2 separate regions of the Homo sapiens genome follow, and region 2 is linked to region 1. Evidence: promoter capture Hi-C in human tissues and cell types (Jung and others, 2019). All regions are on one chromosome and are shown on one strand. Each heading gives the region's core, a stretch centred on a gene start or on the middle of the fragment in contact. The rest is flanking DNA. Distances are from core to core; before and after follow the strand shown.

Region 1 (3,098 bases), core at 247-2,746:
CCGGCCTGGCTCCTAGCCGGACACCACCTGGCGGAAGCTGGAGCCCGCCCTTACTTCCCTGCAACCTGAGGATGCTGAGGCCAAGGGCGGGTGACGGGGCAGAAAGCAAAGCCCTGGTTGCAGAAAGGCATGCAAATATGAACCCAGGTGTCTGGTGCGCCGGGAGCCCCGGCGACGTTAGGAGCGCACTCCTTGCTGGGGTCACCGGAGTTGCGCTTGGCCGGGCAAGGATGACTCAGCCTCACTCCGGTCGGTCTTTACCGCCAGCCTGCGCGAGGGCTCCACAAAGTTCCCAATCACACCCCATACCTCGCACGGGGGAGAGGGGTTCTGCAAGCTGGGTCCCGGGGTGGGGGCAGCGGCGAGAGAGGCGGGGAGAAGCCTGGTTCCCAGAACGCGCAGGGGCTTCTCCGGCTTCCTTTCTCCTCGCCCCTGAGGGCGGCGAGAAGGCGCCTCCTCCGGCGCTCACTGCCTCCTGCCCAGTGCGGTGGGCGCCGGAGTGGGGAGCAGGCAATCCCCCAGGCTCGGAGAAATCTTTTATCCCGAAATCCAGGGTGTCCCCCGGTCAGGATCGACTCGGCGCCGCGTTGGCTTCCTCGCTCAACCCTGACATCCCGGTCCCCACCAGTCACCGCAGCCGGGCGGACTCCGAAGGCAGCGGCCGCTGGGGAGCCCCGGGGCCTGGGTCGGGCGCGCAGGGGGCCGCTGCGCTGCGGCCGGATGCCGGGAGCCCCGCGCTGGTGCGCCCAAGCCGTGGTGGCAGCACCGCCCTCCGTGCTTTCCCCTGTCGGGCGCCGCGGCCGGAGGAGCAGCTGCGGGCGGTCACGCAGCGCTGCCCTAGCCAGAGCCCCGAGCTCCCACCCAGTCCCATCCCCAGCCCGATCCGCCCCGCGTGCGATCCCGCCTGCCGCCGCGAGCCTGTGCTCCTTTCTGAGATTTCTGCTTCTTCCCCAGCTCCCTCCCCGCAGGAGAATCGCGCGGCGGGGGCGGAGGGCGCGCCCCCTTTAGGTTCCGCGGCCCCCGACCCCGCCCGGCCCAGGGGCGGAGCGGGCATGCTACGCCCTCTCCTAGCAGCCGCCCGCAAAGTGCGGAGCGCCGCGCCCTGCCCTCGGCTTCCCTCCCGCGCCCCCAACCCCCACCCTGGCTAGGGTCGCCCGGCCCGGGGCCAGCCCCAGAGTCGCGCCCGCGGTGGCGGACTGCGGAGTTGTAAAGAACTCAGCGGCCGCAGTAGCCCGGGTGGGGCAGGGCGCGCTCCGCCGCGGCCAAGGACACTGGAGTTTCCGAGTCCCCGCCCGCGCGGCGCCTCCTGCCCCGCCGCCCTCCCGCCGCGGCCCGCCGGACTCCCCGGGGCCGCCGAGGCGGGGCCGGGCGGCTGCTGCTGCTAGAGGCGCGTCTCGCTGCCTCCTCCCCCGCCCGCCTCCCTCCCCACCTCTCCTCCCTCCCTCCCCACCTCTCCTCCCTCCCTCTCCTCTCCGCCCTCCCCGCCCCCCCCACCCGCTCCTTTTTCTGCTCCCCAAGTGAGCCGGGCGCGCGAGAGGCAGGCGGGGCGGCGCGGAGCGGAGCAGGCAGCCCCGCGCGCTCGCCCACCGCCCGCTCCGCGCAGCTCCCCGCGGCCGCTCTCGTCGCCGCCGCAGCGGGCGCGTCGGAGGGAGCCCAGCATGGCCGGGCCGGGCTCGCCGCGCCGCGCGTCCCGGGGGGCCTCGGCGCTTCTCGCTGCCGCGCTTCTCTACGCCGCGCTGGGGGACGTGGTGCGCTCGGAGCAGCAGATACCGCTCTCCGTGTAAGTGCCGGCTCCTGCGCCGCCCGGGGAGGGGACCTTGCCGCCTGCGACCCACTGTGCCCAAGTTTGGGCGCCTGCAGGTGCGGCTGGGCAGGACCCGCCGCGGGCGTCGGCCTCGCCGCTCGCACCTGCCTTTCGGGACCCGCGTCGGGCGGCGAGGCCGGGGTGGGATGCTCTGGCCCCTGCCCGCAGGTTGCCGAGTGAGATCTGGAGAGGCTCACCTCAAGTGACGGCACCAACTTTGGAGCCTGGTTACCGAATCCAACTTCCATGGGCCGCTGAATTTCCCCCCTCTTTGCTCTACTGCCGCCCCACTTCTTTTTTTGGGGGGGGGATGGGTGGATTTCTTCTGACTGCTATTTGCCAGGTGATGCCCAGTTTGGGGGGTCGAGTCCTCGGGCAGTGGTTCGAATGAAACTCAGTGGTCTTTTTAGAGAGCCTGGGAGACTTTGCGCATTCTTAACTCCGCGACCCCCCTCGGGCCCCCTCCCGCGCTGCGCTTTGCAGTTTTGGTGCTGGCAGTTTCTACCAAGCCGCTTTTTCTATCTTTTCTTCTTTTAAAACATGTTACATCGCACTGCTCCTTCAGCCATAGTCCCATGTGTGCGTGTGCGTGTGCGTGCGTGTTGACTGTGACACGGGTGTTACATATCTTCCTGTGCCCCTTCTCCCTGTAGGGTGAAGCTCTGGGCCTCGGCTTTTGGTGGGGAGATAAAATCCATTGCTGCTAAGTACTCCGGTTCCCAGCTTCTGCAAAAGGTAAGGTTTCTGTGGTGGCAGGAAGCGATGATTTTTCCGGCACAGAAAATGGAGGCAGATTTAGTTTTCCAAACAAACGTGAGCCCCGAGCAGCATCAGTTATCGGAGGACTCTCTGATCCCCGGGTTTCTTGGCATTGTACTATGCAGTGACTTCTTCCTACCAACCGGTTATTTTTAGATGACACTTGATTCTAACCACAAAGAAAAGCAGGATACTCACTCGCACTGTCCTGGCTGGGGCTCGGAAACTGAGTGTTTTTGCATGGCTCTCGTCTCCGTGTCGGTATTGCTGTTTCAGTGCCAGAGCAGATGCTCCTCGGGCCAAAAAATGCTAACTTCATCCAAGGGGCAGACTCAGTGCCTATTTTGTGATGCCTTTCACCTTGCGTTGGAGGCGTGGGGTTCAGTGTATCAGAGAAAGACGCTGCACTATTGTTTGTCATCCCTGCAGTTGTACAATCCCATTATTCCCCAATCATCTAGACCCAGGGCTAGGATGCATTACATCATTGCAGATAAGGAGAATGAATGTGGTTATCTTTCCACTCAGCTGCACT
Region 2 (3,098 bases), core at 423-2,922, 190 kb before region 1:
AGATTTCCTTAGTGATGAAACTATCTCATTTTTTTAGTGTAAATTTGGTTTTTGGAAATACATTGTAGTTACTTGGAACCAAGACTAATATAGATACATAGGTATCCATGGACTTACTATCTGAGATCAGAAACAACATGTGATTATTAAGTAAGGAAAGTAATTTATCACTTGCCCTTGGCTTTTGTATTTGCACTTGGCTCTGCTTTTGATATCTATATTTGAGATGTCCCTTCATATAAAAAAAAATTAGGTACATTTGGTTGGGCGCGGTGGCTCACACCTGTAATCCCAGCACTTTGGGAGGCCAAGGTGGGCAGATCACGAGATCAGGAGGTTAAGACTATCCTGGCTAACACGGTGAAACCCCATCTCAACTAAAAATACAAAAAATTAGCCAGGTGTGGTAGCATGCACCTGTGGTCCCAGCTACTCAGCAGGTTGAGGCAGGAGAATCACTTGAATCCAGGAAGTGGAGGCTGCAGTGGGTGGAGACCGCACCACTGCACTCCAGCCTGGGCGACAGAGCGAGACTCTGTCTCAAAATAATCAATCAATCAATCAATCAGTTACGTACATTTCCTTTCGTTCTAGAACAGAAGAACAATGGATATTCTTACTGATAAGCTAGATATGGGACTTTGAGGACATAGACGAGTAGAGAATTTTCAGGAGGTTTTGGTTTGTGTTTTGTGATCTAACCTATCCTTTTCAAAAGACCTTCAATAAAGATTCATATGTTTTCCTCAACACTTTATTATGTAATTTTTCAAGCATAAGAGACATTGAAATGATTTTATAGCCAGTCCCATTTATCTACCCTCTAGTTTCTACTGTTAACATTTTATTATACTTGATTTATATCTCCATCAATACATCTCTACACTCATCCATCAATATTTAATTTTTAAAATTCATTTTAACTTTCCAACTTTATTCTTTTTCAAGATTTCTATGGATAATCTAGGTCCTTTCCATTTCTAAATAAATTTTAGAATCAGCTTGTTAGTTTCTACCCAAAAAGCTTGCTGAAATTTCTATTGAAATGGCTTTAAATCTGTAGATCGATTTGGGGAGAATTAACATGCTAGTAAGATAGAGACATCCAGTATTACTGGATGAATGCATCTTTGTTTGTTAAGATTGTCTTTAAATTCTCTCAGAATGTTTTATAGTTTTCAGCATAGAGATCTTACATGTTTTTTGTTAATTTTACCCCTAAGTATCTTGGTTTTTAGAAAAGTATTGCAAATGAAATTGTTTTTAATTTTTTTTCAAATTTTTTTCCAGACCTGTCAGCAAGAAGGTGTTTTTTGTTTGTTTGTTTGTTTGTTTTGTTTGTTTGTTTGTTGCGACAAGGTCTCAATCTGTCGCCCAGGCTGGCTGAAGTACAGTGGTGTGATCATGGCTCTCTGAAACCTCAACTTCCTGGGCTCAAACAATCCTCCTGCCTCAGCCTCCCAACTAGCTGGGATTACAGGCACATGCCACCATACCTGGCTAATTAAAAAAAAAAAATTGTTTGTAGAGATGGGGTCTCACTTTGTTGCCCAGGCTGATCTTGAACTCCTGGGTTCAAGAAATCCTCCCACCTTTGCCTCCCAAAATGTTGGGATCACAGGTGCAAGCCACCGTGCCCTGCCCTGTTTGTTTATGTATCTCTCTATATATACAATTAATTTTTGTATACTAACCTTGCATACTATAACTTTGCTAAATTCACTTAGTGCTAGCAGTCATTCTGTAGATTTCATAGGATTTCCTATGTAAACAAGCATGTCATCTCTAAATAGAGACAGTTGTAGCTTTTGCCTTTCTATTTCTTTTTCTTTGCCTCATTGCACTGACTAAGGCCTCCAGTACATTGGTGAAAAGATGTAATGAGAGGGGGCAAGTATGTATATATTAAATCGGAGTTATCAGAAAACAAGTTGGAAAGTTATTCCTCTCTGTCTAGTTTTTTTAAAAGGTTGTGTAACATTTATATTATTTCTTACTTAAACATTTCATACACCTCACAAGCGAAACCATCTGAGCCTTGAATTTTCTTTATGGGAAAGTTTTTGGAAATAAACTCAACTTCTTTAGGAAACATAAAGCTATTTAATAATTTCTGTTATATTTTTTGACCATTTTGAAAAGTTGCATTTTTAAGGGAATTTTATTTCATCTAAGTTGTCAAATTAGCATAAATTTGTTCATAACTTTTTCTTATCATATTTTAACGTCTTCTTAATATTAGTGCTTGGCATTTTTTATTTTCTTTTGATTAGTCTGGCTATAGGTTTATCCATTTTGTTGATCTTCTCAAAGAACCATATTCCTCCTTTGTTAGTTTTCTCCACTGTTTATCTGTTTTCTGTTTCAACAATATTTGCCTTTCTCTCTGTTATTTTCTATTTACTCTTCTTTCCTAGTTTCTTAAGTTGGAAACTTTGAGTTTTAGATTTTTATTACTCTCTAATATAAGCATTTAAAGCTATGTTTCCCTCTAGCATTGAATTAATTCCATTGGAATTAAATAGTAAATTCTGAGGCTGGGCACGGTGGCTTACGCCTGTAATCCCAGCACTTTGGGAGGCCGAGGCAGGCAGATCGCAAGGTCAGGAGTTTGAGACCAGCCTGGCCAACACAGTGAAACCCCATCTCTACTAAAAATACAAAAATTAGCTGGGTGTGGTGATGCGCGTCTGTAGTCCCAGCTACTCAGGAGGCTGAGGTGGGAGAACCGCTTGAACCCGGGAGGCAGAGGTTGTAGTGAGCTGAGACCATGCCATTGCACTCCAGCCTGGGTGACAGAGTGAGACTCTGTCTAAAAAAAAAAAAAATTCTGTACGATTTAAATAATTTTAAATGTGTTGAGACTTCTTTATGGCCCTATATATGTTCTATCTTGATGAAGGTATCAGGTGCATTTATAAAGAATATGTACTCTGTAGTTGTTGGGTTTAGTGTCTTTTAAATATCAACAGAAGAGAATGTTGGTGAAATCTTCTATGCCTTTACTGATTTTTTTTTGTCCCGTTACTCTATAAATTGCTAAGATTGAGTTGTTAAATTCTTGATTTTTGTTTTGTTTTGTTTTGTTTTTGAGATGA

Evidence for each region. The method cuts DNA at HindIII sites, captures the fragments that hold promoters and counts their contacts. A contact is called where the count stands out against the background at its distance.
Region 2: a contact is called between a fragment that was not itself captured here and the fragment with the promoter of CACNA2D3 in region 1, in 1 of the 25 tissues and cell types used here (dorsolateral prefrontal cortex).

Annotation. Positions count from the first base shown.
Region 1 is chr3:54,121,056-54,124,153 of GRCh38, forward strand. CACNA2D3 (calcium voltage-gated channel auxiliary subunit alpha2delta 3) reads left to right here and starts at 1,497. Exons shown (of 38, transcript NM_018398.3): 1 at 1,497-1,780; 2 at 2,458-2,539. The coding sequence starts at 1,659. It overlaps LOC124909381 (a long non-coding RNA gene), which reads right to left and starts at 2,387. Exons shown (of 2, transcript XR_007095914.1): 1 at 2,002-2,387. RefSeq lists a silencer at 254-303. The HindIII fragment of the contact is 8,759 bases long and covers 1-3,098 here.
Region 2 is chr3:53,930,128-53,933,225 of GRCh38, forward strand. No RefSeq gene overlaps it. Among named protein-coding and RNA genes, the nearest start is that of SELENOK, 40 kb to the left of the region's middle. The HindIII fragment of the contact is 6,438 bases long and covers 1-3,098 here.